Regions from separate parts of the Homo sapiens genome. Here region 1 is linked to region 2. The links are contacts of gene promoters, found by promoter capture Hi-C in blood cells and fetal thymus (Javierre and others, 2016). All regions are on one chromosome and are shown on one strand. Each heading gives the region's core, a stretch centred on a gene start or on the middle of the fragment in contact. The rest is flanking DNA. Distances are from core to core; before and after follow the strand shown.

Region 1 (6,017 bases), core at 460-2,959, 460 kb after region 2:
CATGTGGGCCAGGTTGGTCTCGAACTCCTGACCTCAGGTGATCTGCCCGCCTTGGCCTCCCAAAGTGCTGGGATTACAGGCATGAGCCACCACGCCCGGCTTTAATTTTAATTTGAAAATAACTTATGGCTCTCTCTCTCTCAATCTCTCTCTCTCACACACACACACACACACAAATATTCTCTATATAATATTTTAAAGTTAAGAATGTTTTAAAAGCTTGAATTTATCATTACTTAGGAATTAAGAGAAATTATGCACATGGCTTCCTGAAGTCCGTGTGTCGATCCTCCATGTATCCCCACACTTTGCACAGCGTTCAGCAAAGTAAGCGTTGGATTTCTCTTTTGCTGTGAAAGGTACGAGAGTGAACTGTCCCTTCGCCAGCTGTTAGAGGCTGACATCAGCAGCCTGCATGGGATCCTGGAGGAACTGACCCTGTGCAAATCTGATCTGGAGGCCCATGTGGAGTCTCTGAAGGAAGATCTCCTTTGCCTTAAGAAAAACCATGAAGAGGTAAGGAAAGTGGCAACTCCGCTGAAGGACTCCGAGAGTAACGTACTTACATTGACAGATGATCTGTTGATGTTTGTAAATCGAATTTGGGCAGATGTTGTTTAAGCTGGAATAAAACTACTTGAGGCAGGGCCAGGCATGGTGGCTCACACCTGTAATCCAAGCACTTTGGGAGGCTGAGGCAGGAGGATCACAAGGTCAGGAGTTCGAGACCAGCCTGACCAATATGATGAAACCTCATCTCTACTAAAAATACAAAAATTAGCTGGGCATGGTGGCAGGCGCCTGTAGTCCTAGCTACTCGGGAGGCTGAGGCAGGAGAATCACTTGAACTCAGGAGGCGGAGGTTGCAGTGAGCCGAGATCTTACCACTGCACTCCAGCCTGGGTGACAGGGCGAGACTCCATCTCAAAAAACAAACAAACAAACAAACAAACAAAAACTACTCGAGGCATTATTACTATTCAACCTGATCATTCCAGTGTGTCTCTGATTTAAGGTGTGAAATAACCCCTAGACAGCGCCAGAGGAAGGAATCAAACTCTTCTCCTGCCCTTGCCTTTGTGGAGGAGGTAACTTCACAAATGGCTTCCTTTGGAGGCTTTATGCCACCCCTAGCTCCAGTCCACAGGGTATGAAAATCAGGCTGAGGAACAGACTGTGAAGTCCATTTCAAAAAAGGGATAAAGACTGTGCACTATCTGGACCAGTGTTTTTAAATATTCCGCATTTATAAACTTCTAAAAATCATAAAATATACAGCCACTGATATATTGATAAAGCTAGAAAATGAAAAGCTGAATGATGTAACAAAGTACATTTGCTCTTTGAACGTTTGTTGATGACAATCATAGCTAACATTTATTGACACCTTACTATGTGTCATAATTAACTTTTATAAGTTAATTATGTGTAGATTGACTCTTCTAGATCTCACAATAACTTTCTGGAAAAATGTCCAATTATTATGTCCATTTTACAGACGAAGAAACTGAGGCCCTTCTAAGTGGTGAAAAGAGATTCAGCCCAGGCAATCTGAATCAAAATCTCACACTTTTACCCACTGCTCCAAAAAACAGAAGTAGAATGCCATTGGATGTCAAATGGATTTTTCCCCACCATTCTGTGACATTCTTTACACCATCCCACTTTCAGGAAGTCAACTTGCTTCGTGAACAGCTTGGCGACCGCCTCAGTGTGGAGCTGGACACTGCCCCCACCCTTGACCTCAACAGGGTCCTGGATGAGATGCGCTGTCAGTGTGAAACGGTGCTTGCCAACAATCGCAGAGAAGCTGAAGAATGGTTGGCTGTTCAGGTCAGTACCCAGATTGAAAAAATGTCAGGCTTACAGACTTCTGCCTTTTTTGAATTCTCTAATGGTGTCTGTGTTTCAGACAGAAGAGCTGAATCAGCAGCAACTGTCCAGCGCGGAGCAGCTGCAGGGCTGCCAGATGGAGATCTTGGAACTGAAACGCACAGCCAGTGCTCTGGAAATTGAGCTCCAAGCACAGCAAAGCCTGGTGCGTGAGGCAAAGGCAGTGTCCGTTGTGTCACTGATAAGTCAGGCCCTGAGATGTTAAGCCCTCTTCCATATCCGAGGATCACATTTCCTTGCCTTTCCCGAGTACTGCCGTTTACCCAGCTATTAATAGAAGCAGAAGTGACAGGTCCACAGCTTGTCCTCTAAGATGCCTTACCTTCACTCCTGGGCTTGAGTCTGATGCTGCAGCAGCCTCCAGAGACAGGGAGGGAGAAGCAGAGCTGGAGAGAAACCTCCGGGCCATGGTCGCTTAAGCATTCTGGCAGGTTTTAATTCTCATTTGATTCAGGCCAGTTTTCCAGGCTCACTGTTATATCTAAAACAAAGAATCATTTTCAAACATTTCATCCTACAGTTTCCCAGGATCTACACTTCAACCTTATCCTTCACTGCACCACCCCCCACTCAAGCAACAGGAACACCATGCGTTCAAGATGACATGAACCAGTTCTGGTCAAGCACCACTGTGTGCATGTCATTAGGCCCTGCGGAGAACACCTAGAAGAACAATAGCTGAGCATTCATCCTGTGAGAGGCACTATGCTGATTTAAGGCTCACAGTAACTTTACCGGATAGATACCTTTATCCCATGACACAGATAAGGAAAACTGAGACTCAGATTAAGTAACTTGCAAAGGATGCAATTCTAAGAGGCAAACTTGGAAGCTGAGTTCAGCCAGTTGAATCCCAGAGTCTCTTCTCTCTCTCTTTTTAAATTTATTTTTATTGATATATAATATGCGTAAATTTTTTTTACGTAGATGTGATATTTTGTTACATGCATAGAATGTGTAATGATCAAGTCAGGATATTTAGAGCATCCATCACCTCAAGTATTTATCATTTCTATGTGTTGGGAGCATTTCAAGTCCTCCCATCTAGCTATTTTGAAATGCACAGTGTATTGTTGTTAACTGTAGTCACACTTCTCTGCTGTCCAACATGAAAACATATTCTTTCTGTCTAACTGTATGTTTGCACCCATTAACCAACCTCTCTTCATCCCCTTACCACACATATGCCAGTCCCAGCCTCTGGTATCCAGAGCCTCTTCTCTTAATAGCACTATACTACCCCTCCCTGCCAAGAGCCCAAACTCAATCTTTCCTCTCATATGTTGTGGATAGTCCTTAAGCTTCACAAATATGTCATGTATTGCTGTAGTCATAGTGGTGGTAGTGATAGTTGACACGTAGAACAGTGGCAGTATGGCTGGCACTGTTCTAAATGCTTTACGCACATTAACTCTTTTTTTTTTTTTTTGGACGGAGTCTCCCTCTGTCGCCCAGGCTGGAGTGCAATGGCATGATCTTGACTTACTGCAAGCTTTGCCTCCCGGGTTCACACCATTCTCCTGAGTAGCTGGGACTACAGGCGTCCACCACCGTACCCAGCTAATTTTTTATATTTTTAGTAGAGACGGGGTTTCACCGTGTTAGCCAGGATGGTCTCGATCTTCTGACCTTGTGATCCGCCCGCCTCGGCCTCCCAAAGTGCTGGGATTACAGGCCTGAGCCACCGCGCCCAGCCCGCATATTAACTCTTAATCTTCACAACCGTCTAATGAAACAGATACTTTGTATTCTCCACTATACAGAGAATAAAACTGAGACTCACAGAAGCTAAATAATTTGCCAGTGGTCACATAGCTAGAAAAGGGTAAGCAGGAATTTGAAAGTAGGCACTCTGGCCCGAGAGACTGCACTTCATGGTCCTTTGGACAATGTTTCCTCCCGCAGACAGAATCTCTGGAATGCACCGTGGCAGAAACCGAGGCCCAGTACAGCTCCCAGCTGGCCCAAATTCAGTGTCTGATCGATAACCTGGAGAACCAGCTGGCCGAGATCCGCTGCGACCTGGAGCGACAGAACCAGGAGTACCAGGTGCTCCTGGACGTGAAGGCCCGGCTGGAGGGTGAGATCAACACGTACTGGGGCCTGCTGGACAGCGAGGACAGCAGGCAAGTTCCACAGTTACTCATGAAATCCCCCAGAGTCACAAAGAGGCTGATGTAAAAGAATCCTGTTTCCCCAAAGTCTGGACAAGTTCAGACCTCCCCAGTGTGTTTAGGGATCTTCTTAAAAAAGTGCTGAAAAGTGGCTGAGGTTAAGAACATGACACTAGAGATATTTTTAAAATATTCTAAAGGCAGATTAATTATTAGTGTAACATTTCATGCTGGCATCTCCCTTTGTTCCTGTTTTCCACTAAAGGAAAATCAGGAATAGGCCTAAGATAACATTTGCAAAATCAAGAAAAAATATAAAATACTATTCAACTGCCACTGCTACAGTGAACATGAAGTGGCAATTCTGGGTGCAGAGAAGAAACAGGCTTCAGTCAATGCTATTGTGCAGAGTTTTTTTCAGAACATAATTTGTAGGGCAAATTTTGACACGGTTTTTCTGAGTTGCCATTTTATCAACATTCCCTTGTTAATCTTGGTTGAAAATCGATTTTTCCCCAGGCTTTCCTGTAGCCCATGTTCGACCACATGCACCTCGAGCAACACTTGTGAGCCATGCTCAGCCTATGTCATCTGCACTGTTGAAAACTGCTGCTTGTGAATGTTAAGGACAGCAGGTAGAGGAATCAAAGCCAGCAGCATCCTAGAAAGGAGATGGGGCTTCAACCAGGGACATCCAAACCGGAAGCACAAATCCAGGAGGCTCTCATATCCTGGAATTGCCCTCCAGGTATCCTCAGTCTTTCTGCTTTACTATTTCCTCTCCTTCCGGCTTATTTGTGGTATACTGGAAGCCCATAAAGCATTCTTGCTCATCTCCAAATAAAACGTGTTTTATTCCTTTAGCGTGGTAAATATAGCTCTATGGCTGATTACTGTTGATAGAATATTCATTTTATGGCAAGGAAATCATCTAAACCCATAACCATAGTTTCAATGTACATAAACCCAGGCTGAAAATATTTTTTAACTCCTCAAATACAAATAAATTAATGAACCCATGAGAAATGTCATATATCTTAGAAAATAGTTGTGTGTATCTTTCTGAGGAAAAATATTAGGAATAAAATATGATAAAATGTATTTTTTGATTATAAAAGTACTAGATTCTCTTTTTTTAAATTTGGCTCATTAAAAGGGAAAAGGTCACTTATGATTTCATCTTCCAAACAGCCATAGTCAATATTTTGGGGTACTTTCTTCCAGTTTTCTTTCTTATAATAGATTTTTCCACACAGCTATAATCATACTAACATATGCACACACTTGTGTAAACTTTCTTTCATTTATGTCATCTAAGCATTTTTAATTCTAATAAAAACATAAGATTGTATTGTAGCCATCACTTTTTTTATTTTTTATTTTTTTTTTGAGACAGAGTCTTGCTGTGTCACCCAGGCTGGAGTGTAGTCACACTATCTGGGCTCACTGCAACCTCTGCCTCCTGGGTTCAAGCGATTCTCCTGCCTCAGCCTCCCAAGTAGCTGGGACTACAGGTGTCTGCCACCACACCAGGCTAATTTTTTTTTTTTTTTAGTAGAGACAGGGTTTCACCGTGTTAGCCAGGATGGTCTCAATCTCTTGACCTTGTGATCCACCAGCTTCAGCCTCCCAAAGTGCTGGGATTACAGGTGTGAGCCACTGCACCCAGCCTGTAGCCATCATTTTACTGGTTGCATAATGTACCATAAGGTACATTGATCTGTTATTGGACATTTAGGTTATAAGAATAATTATTCTCATATATTTAAAAAACAAGGTAGAGAACTTCCAGAATGATGTATATTTCCATATTCCTCCTCCTAAAAACCCTGGAAATTACATATCAAATAAACATAAGAGGACTCTGAAAGGTAGAAGAAGAAGCCAAACCACCTAAAGATGTTGAGACTCCAGGAGTGACACTGTGGTGAGCTCCCTGGATTAGCTTTTTATCTCATATATCCCAGAGGGGGAGCTGGAGAAACCAACAACCAGAAACACCAACAGGTG
Region 2 (6,077 bases), core at 3,369-5,868:
GGGCATCTGAGAATGTGGATTTCTAACAAGTTCCTGCGAGATGCTGATGCTACTGGCTAAGAAACCAAACTCTGAGAACCACTGCCCTACAGGCTGACACGACCAGCTTAGGAAAATGTCCAGAGAGTAATTTTTCTCAACACAACATAAAAACCAACATAAATCTATACAGTTTTCTTTATCAAATGTCATCTCCTCTGTGCTGGCTTATCCCTGCCTAATGCTTGCTAAGTGCCTCACTTGGGCTTGTACCTTTCCTTTGTCAGTGTCACTATCTGAGAAAGACTTGAAGGTGACTTGAGAGAAGCATCCTGCATCAGCAGAGAAGGGTTGTTCCCAGTGATGTGCAATCAAACTAGCTGGTTCTGCCCTTTCCAGAGGCTGCCTGAGTTCGCAGCTGGGACCGTGGGGCCCTGGGGGGAACCACAGCATCTCAGTGACTGGTGAGAAGATGAAGCAGTTGTGGGTGGCACCATGGCCATAATGCCTTCCTCTTCTCTAGGGGCAGGTCTCTTGCCTGTGTCATCAAATGTGATCTACCTTTGGTTTCTCTGTAGGATTTATAAAAAAAATTACTATGTAAGAAATGTACTGTCAGGATTTTGGTTTTAGAAAGTGGGATCAAGTGGTACGCTGGAGCTAACTCTTATAACTCACAAGAGCCGATTTTTCACATCTCTTTCCAACTCCACATTCAGTGACATCATATTGTTTGCTTGAAGTTGGCTATTGTGGGAGTATTTACACCACAGAAATTGGCTTACACTACAAACTGGAGGGGTTTTCCCCCCAGAGAGCTAATTTGCCGGCATATCTCTGGTTGTGTATTTATCCACATTGCTTAAGAATCTATGATTTTACTTCATTGTTTCAGCATACAAATATCTTTGCTTGGTGCTACTGTGTTTCTCATTACCTGCTTACATAATTAAACACACATGGATGCAGAACCTACTCTGTAGCCGGGCTCTGTGCCAGAGTCTGGGGATATGGAGATGAAAGAGGAAAAAGCAATGAGACAAACTCCCTGATGTCCTGGAGATCCCAAGTCCATGGTGGGGAGCTACCACCTCTGATACAGCCACAGTTTCCCAGGGTGAGAAGAGTGTGTCAGCAGAGGGAGAGCAGCCTACCTGGGAAGCCAGAGAAGGCTTTGCAGAGAGCATGAGTGAGCCCACACAGCTCAATCTATCTGTGACAGAGAACGGCCACTGAGCTGTTTCAGACTCAGCATGTTTCATAATCATGGGTTTGTAATGAGCAACAGAAAGCAGTTCAATATTTTCCACAATGAGGATCTTTGACCTGTGCCAAAGATCTGTTTTTATTCTGGTTGAAACAGAATTCTATATTTTCTTCCCTTCTTAGGGTCTTGCTTCTCAAAGATTTTCCAACTCTTTCTAATTCATCTTCTGGAGTCTCTTCCCTCACTATTGCTTGCCAGGGCAGGGTGAGCCTCCTGAGCTACTCTCCAAGTGGGTCGATTGCAGTGAAGCCTGGAGCAGCAAATGATGCCATCAGAGGCAGGTGTGAGGCTCACAGGTCCCAACGCACGGGCCCCGGTTTCTGTGCCTATGTGCAGAGGTGGAAGCTCGTGACTGTCATCCACAGGAGAGGATAGGACTTGTTTCCCACACTCATGCCAACACTGTGTGCTATTATCCAACTTAGCAAAACCTGATAAGAAAACAATATCTCTTTAGTTTGTATTTCTTAATCACAAATGAGCATACATTCATATATAGATAAAATCATATTTAATTTGAACAGAAGTGTACCTTTTCCATTCATCAAAGCCTCAGGAGTTGGATACCTAGAATAATACATTTATATGCTCAGCCTCTTCTCTCAAGAGTCTTCATGGTTTCTTGATCTAGGATTGTTTGGGACACCATTTTCTAACACCCTGGAGATGTGGCAGCACTAACTCTACATATAGTACTTGTCATAAATCTTTGCATTCACTGCAATGTGTGATGGGTGACGTTCCCACACAGGGCACAACTCCCTAGATGCCTCCCTGCATCTTCCAGCAGTAGGAGCCATGACACAGAAAAGATAAACTTTGAGTTAGGCACAATCTCCAGGTGCTAGCCTACAGCTCCATACCTTTCTCTCCCATTGGTTGAGATATGCCCCTATGTATCAAAATTAGTGAAAATGGCATTCCAAGACCACAGCTCCTCACCTCCATTTGCAGTAGACTTCATGCCTCTAGAGATCGGCATGTCTAAAGTCAGAATCCACACAGAGAATGTTGTGCACACAGGTGAATGAAGGAGGGCAGCAGGCTCCCATCTCTCACACTCTGTATTCATCACTTCTTGTTACTGAACCTGGCCTCATATTCGGTCACCAGGGGCCACAGGGACTCTTTTTAAAGGGTTGGGAAGGAAGAGAGTCTTAGGATCCCCACCCGCTCCTTCACCTCCTTTGAGAAAATACAAATCAGGGGAACAAAGCGATTTTACAAAGAGCCATGCAACATCAGTATCATTATGCAAAACAGTACAAGGTAGAAGCCCAAGCCAGGACCCAAGCCAGTTGGCAGAGAGGGGTGTCATCTGGACACACAAGGCTTCAGCAGTGATGAGTCATGTATTGTGAATGGACGAAATCGTGGCTTTTAGTCCATGGAATGAATCTGGGCAGAGGATAAAGCCAAAAGATGGGTGCTACTTAGCAAATCAAAGGAAATGACTTTAAAAGCCTGGCTCTCTGATTTATAGAGAAGCTTGTTGCTATGTGATGAGGCGGAGGAGAGTAACAAAAGGGTGTTTGAAGATGTAACATATGCAGATTGCACCCAGTGGCCTCTGGAGGATGGGACAGCCTGCCCTGGTGATGTCTCCCAATGATGTTGTCTGTAAAGGGTTATGGATTGGTGAGCTCTGAATAACCCTTAGGTCAGCGCTCACTACTACTTACTTTCCTGAGAAGCCCAATCTGGACTGAATTCTCAGATTCTGTATTTCTTCTTGATAGAACTCCAATAGCCTGTGTTTCACATATGCACGTCTGATCCCTATAGAGGTGTATGTTCAGCTTTTGTTCAATGCTCAGGGGACTGGCAAAAACTCATTTTCCCAAAATTCTAGTTATAATCACTTTGGATTGTTCCACATTAGGTTTTTCTTAGTCTCAGGGGTCTATGTATCTTCTGTCACAAATTTTGGGAGAAAAGTTTTGGGATCTCAGCAGCCATGTGTCTTGGATCCCTAGTACCAAGAACTATCTGAATGTGGAATGTGTAATATAACCATTTTAGGGACAGGACTTTCCCCTGGCATCTTCTGATTTAGCCCTTGGAGAAACTCTGTTTTATTGTATGAATACCTCCACATCTGTATTTTCTGAGATACAAAGGGAAAAATACACAATGTCAGATTTTTGTTTTACATCTTAATTTCAACTTCTTGCCCGGTTTCTAGGAATTTGAATCCTTCTTAGTTCTAGCAATGACACAGTAGTTATCCTTGGGGTGGAGGATTTGGAGGTGGTCAAGGTGAAGAAACAGTTTCTGGAGTTGAAAGAAGCTGATGTTGAGAATAGGCTTTATACTTTATAGTGAGGTTGATCTTAGAAAACTGTCCTCAATGGCTTGTTTATTTATTTTGTAAAATTAAGAGTACCCACCTCCCAGGTTGGAAGTAAAGATTAAAAGGTATCATTGCTCAATCCCCTAGCTCATAGGGTGAAGGCTCATGACTGACTTTAGAATAAAGGAAGCAAGGTATGAAGAGAGCCCACAGAGGCTCTGATCACTCAATGTCCTTTGACTTTCATGACCAAGTTCTTATTTGAGGTTCAGTAAGATTATTGCTCATTTCTCTTTGTTTATTTCTGGCTTCTTGAGCTTGCCCTTCTTGGTCGAGATAAGCCATGGTTTTTGGAGTCATCCTCATTTTCATGAGCTTCTCAGATACCTTGTTTGAAACATCACGTCTACCCAAGTTACAGTTGTTCCCCAATGGCAGGAACTATTTTGTGCTTAACCAACTATATATCAAGCATCAGCAAGGTGCGTAGCATATGGGACGTAGCCAGGGGATGTGTTTTGAGTGACTGGATTCATCTAAGTCTTGTTGCTCCTCAAAGTGAGTCTGAAAGGCAACCAACTAAAGAAAGAAGAAATGTAGGACTTCTTGATAACCCAAGGCCATAACATCCACCAATTCCAAGACTCAGTTTCTTCCCTGGATAGGGAAGGCTGGTTGAGTCTTAACCCAAGTGAGAACCATTGTCATCACCGGGGTTAGTCCTCCTGCTACACCACTGACCAACAGGAAAGTTTGTGTCTCCAGAGTGGACACATCCATAAAGAGGCCAAACCCAGTCAAGGTCTAAGCATCTGATGGCTATAACTTTGCTTCTTTGAAAGATAATAAAAAGCTTCTGACCTCCCATCAACAGCCAACCTGATTTCAAAGAGCCAAGAGGCCTCAGATTCGTCAACATTCCTTTAACGAGCTGAGAAACTTTTCATGGTAAACTCAGCAGCTGAGTAACAGGATGATGGCACCACAACAGGTAGATAATCAAGGCAGGAGGTCAAAGCATTGGAGCCAACACCCGCCCAGGATGGGGTATAAAAGGGCTGGGAGGAGAGGAGGCTTCAGTCTCAGTGGTTCAGCTTTCCCAGCTGATCTGAAGCTCCTGTGCAGCCTCAGCCCAACACCATGACCTCTTCCTACAGCAGCTCCTCATGCCCTCTGGGTTGCACCATGGCTCCTGGAGCAAGAAATGTCTCTGTCTCTCCCATCGACATTGGGTGCCAGCCTGGGGCAGAGGCCAACATTGCCCCCATGTGCCTTTTGGCCAACGTGGCACATGCCAACCGAGTCCGTGTGGGGTCCACTCCCCTGGGCCGCCCCAGCCTCTGTCTGCCGCCTACCTGCCACACTGCTTGTCCCTTGCCAGGGACCTGCCACATTCCTGGCAACATTGGAATCTGTGGGGCCTATGGTGAAAACACCCTGAATGGCCATGAGAAGGAGACCATGCAGTTCCTGAATGACCGCCTGGCCAACTACCTGGAGAAGGTGCGCCAGCTGGAGCAGGAGAATGCGGAGCTGGAGGCCACACTCCTCGAGAGGAGCAAGTGCCACGAGTCCACCGTGTGCCCCGACTACCAGTCTTACTTCCACACCATCGAGGAGCTCCAACAGAAGGTGAGGTGTGGGATCGCTTGGGTGTGCTGGGTCTGAGATGGCAGAGGCAAGACAGGAGGAATCCATGTAAAGCTCAGAGAACTTTGGGTTCTTGGTTTCTCTTGGACATGATCATAGACACCACACGTGGAGAAGGAGCCTAGGGCATGATGCTTTGTGTGTGAACTGTCTTCCTGTTCTCCTCAGATCCTGTGCAGCAAGGCCGAGAATGCCAGGCTGATTGTACAAATTGACAATGCCAAGCTGGCTGCCGATGACTTTAGGATCAAGTAAGTCAGGCGGAGGAGGGCCAGGGTGACTCCTTCCCCACCCTCCATCCCAATGCCCAAATACTTGTTGAGTGAGGGAATCATTGTCATTTCTTCCTTGCTAGATTCTCTACAGTAAAATTTTCATTACAATCGAAGCTGATGGAAGATGGAAGGGAAAACTCCTCATTAATCCAAGCATATATGTTTGTCTTCCTTCATTTATTTCCCTAAAATGGAGGATAAGGCAGCCTGAGTTCATTAACCAGGAGCAAAATGAGGTGATTTGAAGGATGAACTGAGCAAGACAGCCATTGGGTTTCATATATAAGTCAGAGGAGTCACTTACAGATGAGTCTTTGTCCAGATTTAATTAGGGAGCCCTAAGGTACCAGGTATAAGGTACCTAGGCAAAAATGAGAGAGGGGAAGACAGCTGAAAGCAAGGGATAAGGAGCCGCAGATCACGATCAGGCACCTGGTTATTGCTTATCTTTGGTAACTGACAGCCCCTGCAATGGCATGAGCGTTGGACTGGGTCCCAAGATGCATGATCTTACGCAAGTCAGTTGATCTTCCTGAACTGCAGTTGCCACAGAATACAATGGCAAAAATGTATATTGTGCAATGTAGTGTTGTGATTTCTCCATTAGACCATG

What was found. The method cuts DNA at HindIII sites, captures the fragments that hold promoters and counts their contacts. A CHiCAGO score of 5 or more calls a contact.
Region 1: a contact is called between a fragment that was not itself captured here and the fragment with the promoter of KRT38 in region 2, in 5 of 17 cell types (naive CD8 T cells, activated CD4 T cells, naive CD4 T cells and 2 more). The highest score is 6.6, in naive CD8 T cells.

What each region holds. Positions count from the first base shown.
Region 1 is chr17:40,976,806-40,982,822 of GRCh38, reverse strand. KRT40 (keratin 40) reads left to right here. Exons shown (of 7, transcript NM_001389244.1): 3 at 360-516; 4 at 1,672-1,833; 5 at 1,913-2,038; 6 at 3,799-4,019; 7 at 4,527-5,108. The coding sequence ends at 4,626. LOC107985072 (a long non-coding RNA gene) reads right to left here. Exons shown (of 4, transcript XR_001752886.2): 3 at 2,216-2,374; 4 at 1-495. Among named protein-coding and RNA genes, the nearest start is that of KRT40, 4.5 kb to the left of the region's middle. RefSeq lists an enhancer at 2,216-2,817. The HindIII fragment of the contact is 2,975 bases long and covers 222-3,196 here.
Region 2 is chr17:41,439,524-41,445,600 of GRCh38, reverse strand. KRT38 (keratin 38) reads left to right here and starts at 4,618. Exons shown (of 7, transcript NM_006771.4): 1 at 4,618-5,171; 2 at 5,358-5,440. The coding sequence starts at 4,680. RefSeq lists an enhancer at 4,462-4,962. The HindIII fragment of the contact is 7,679 bases long and covers 4,395-6,077 here.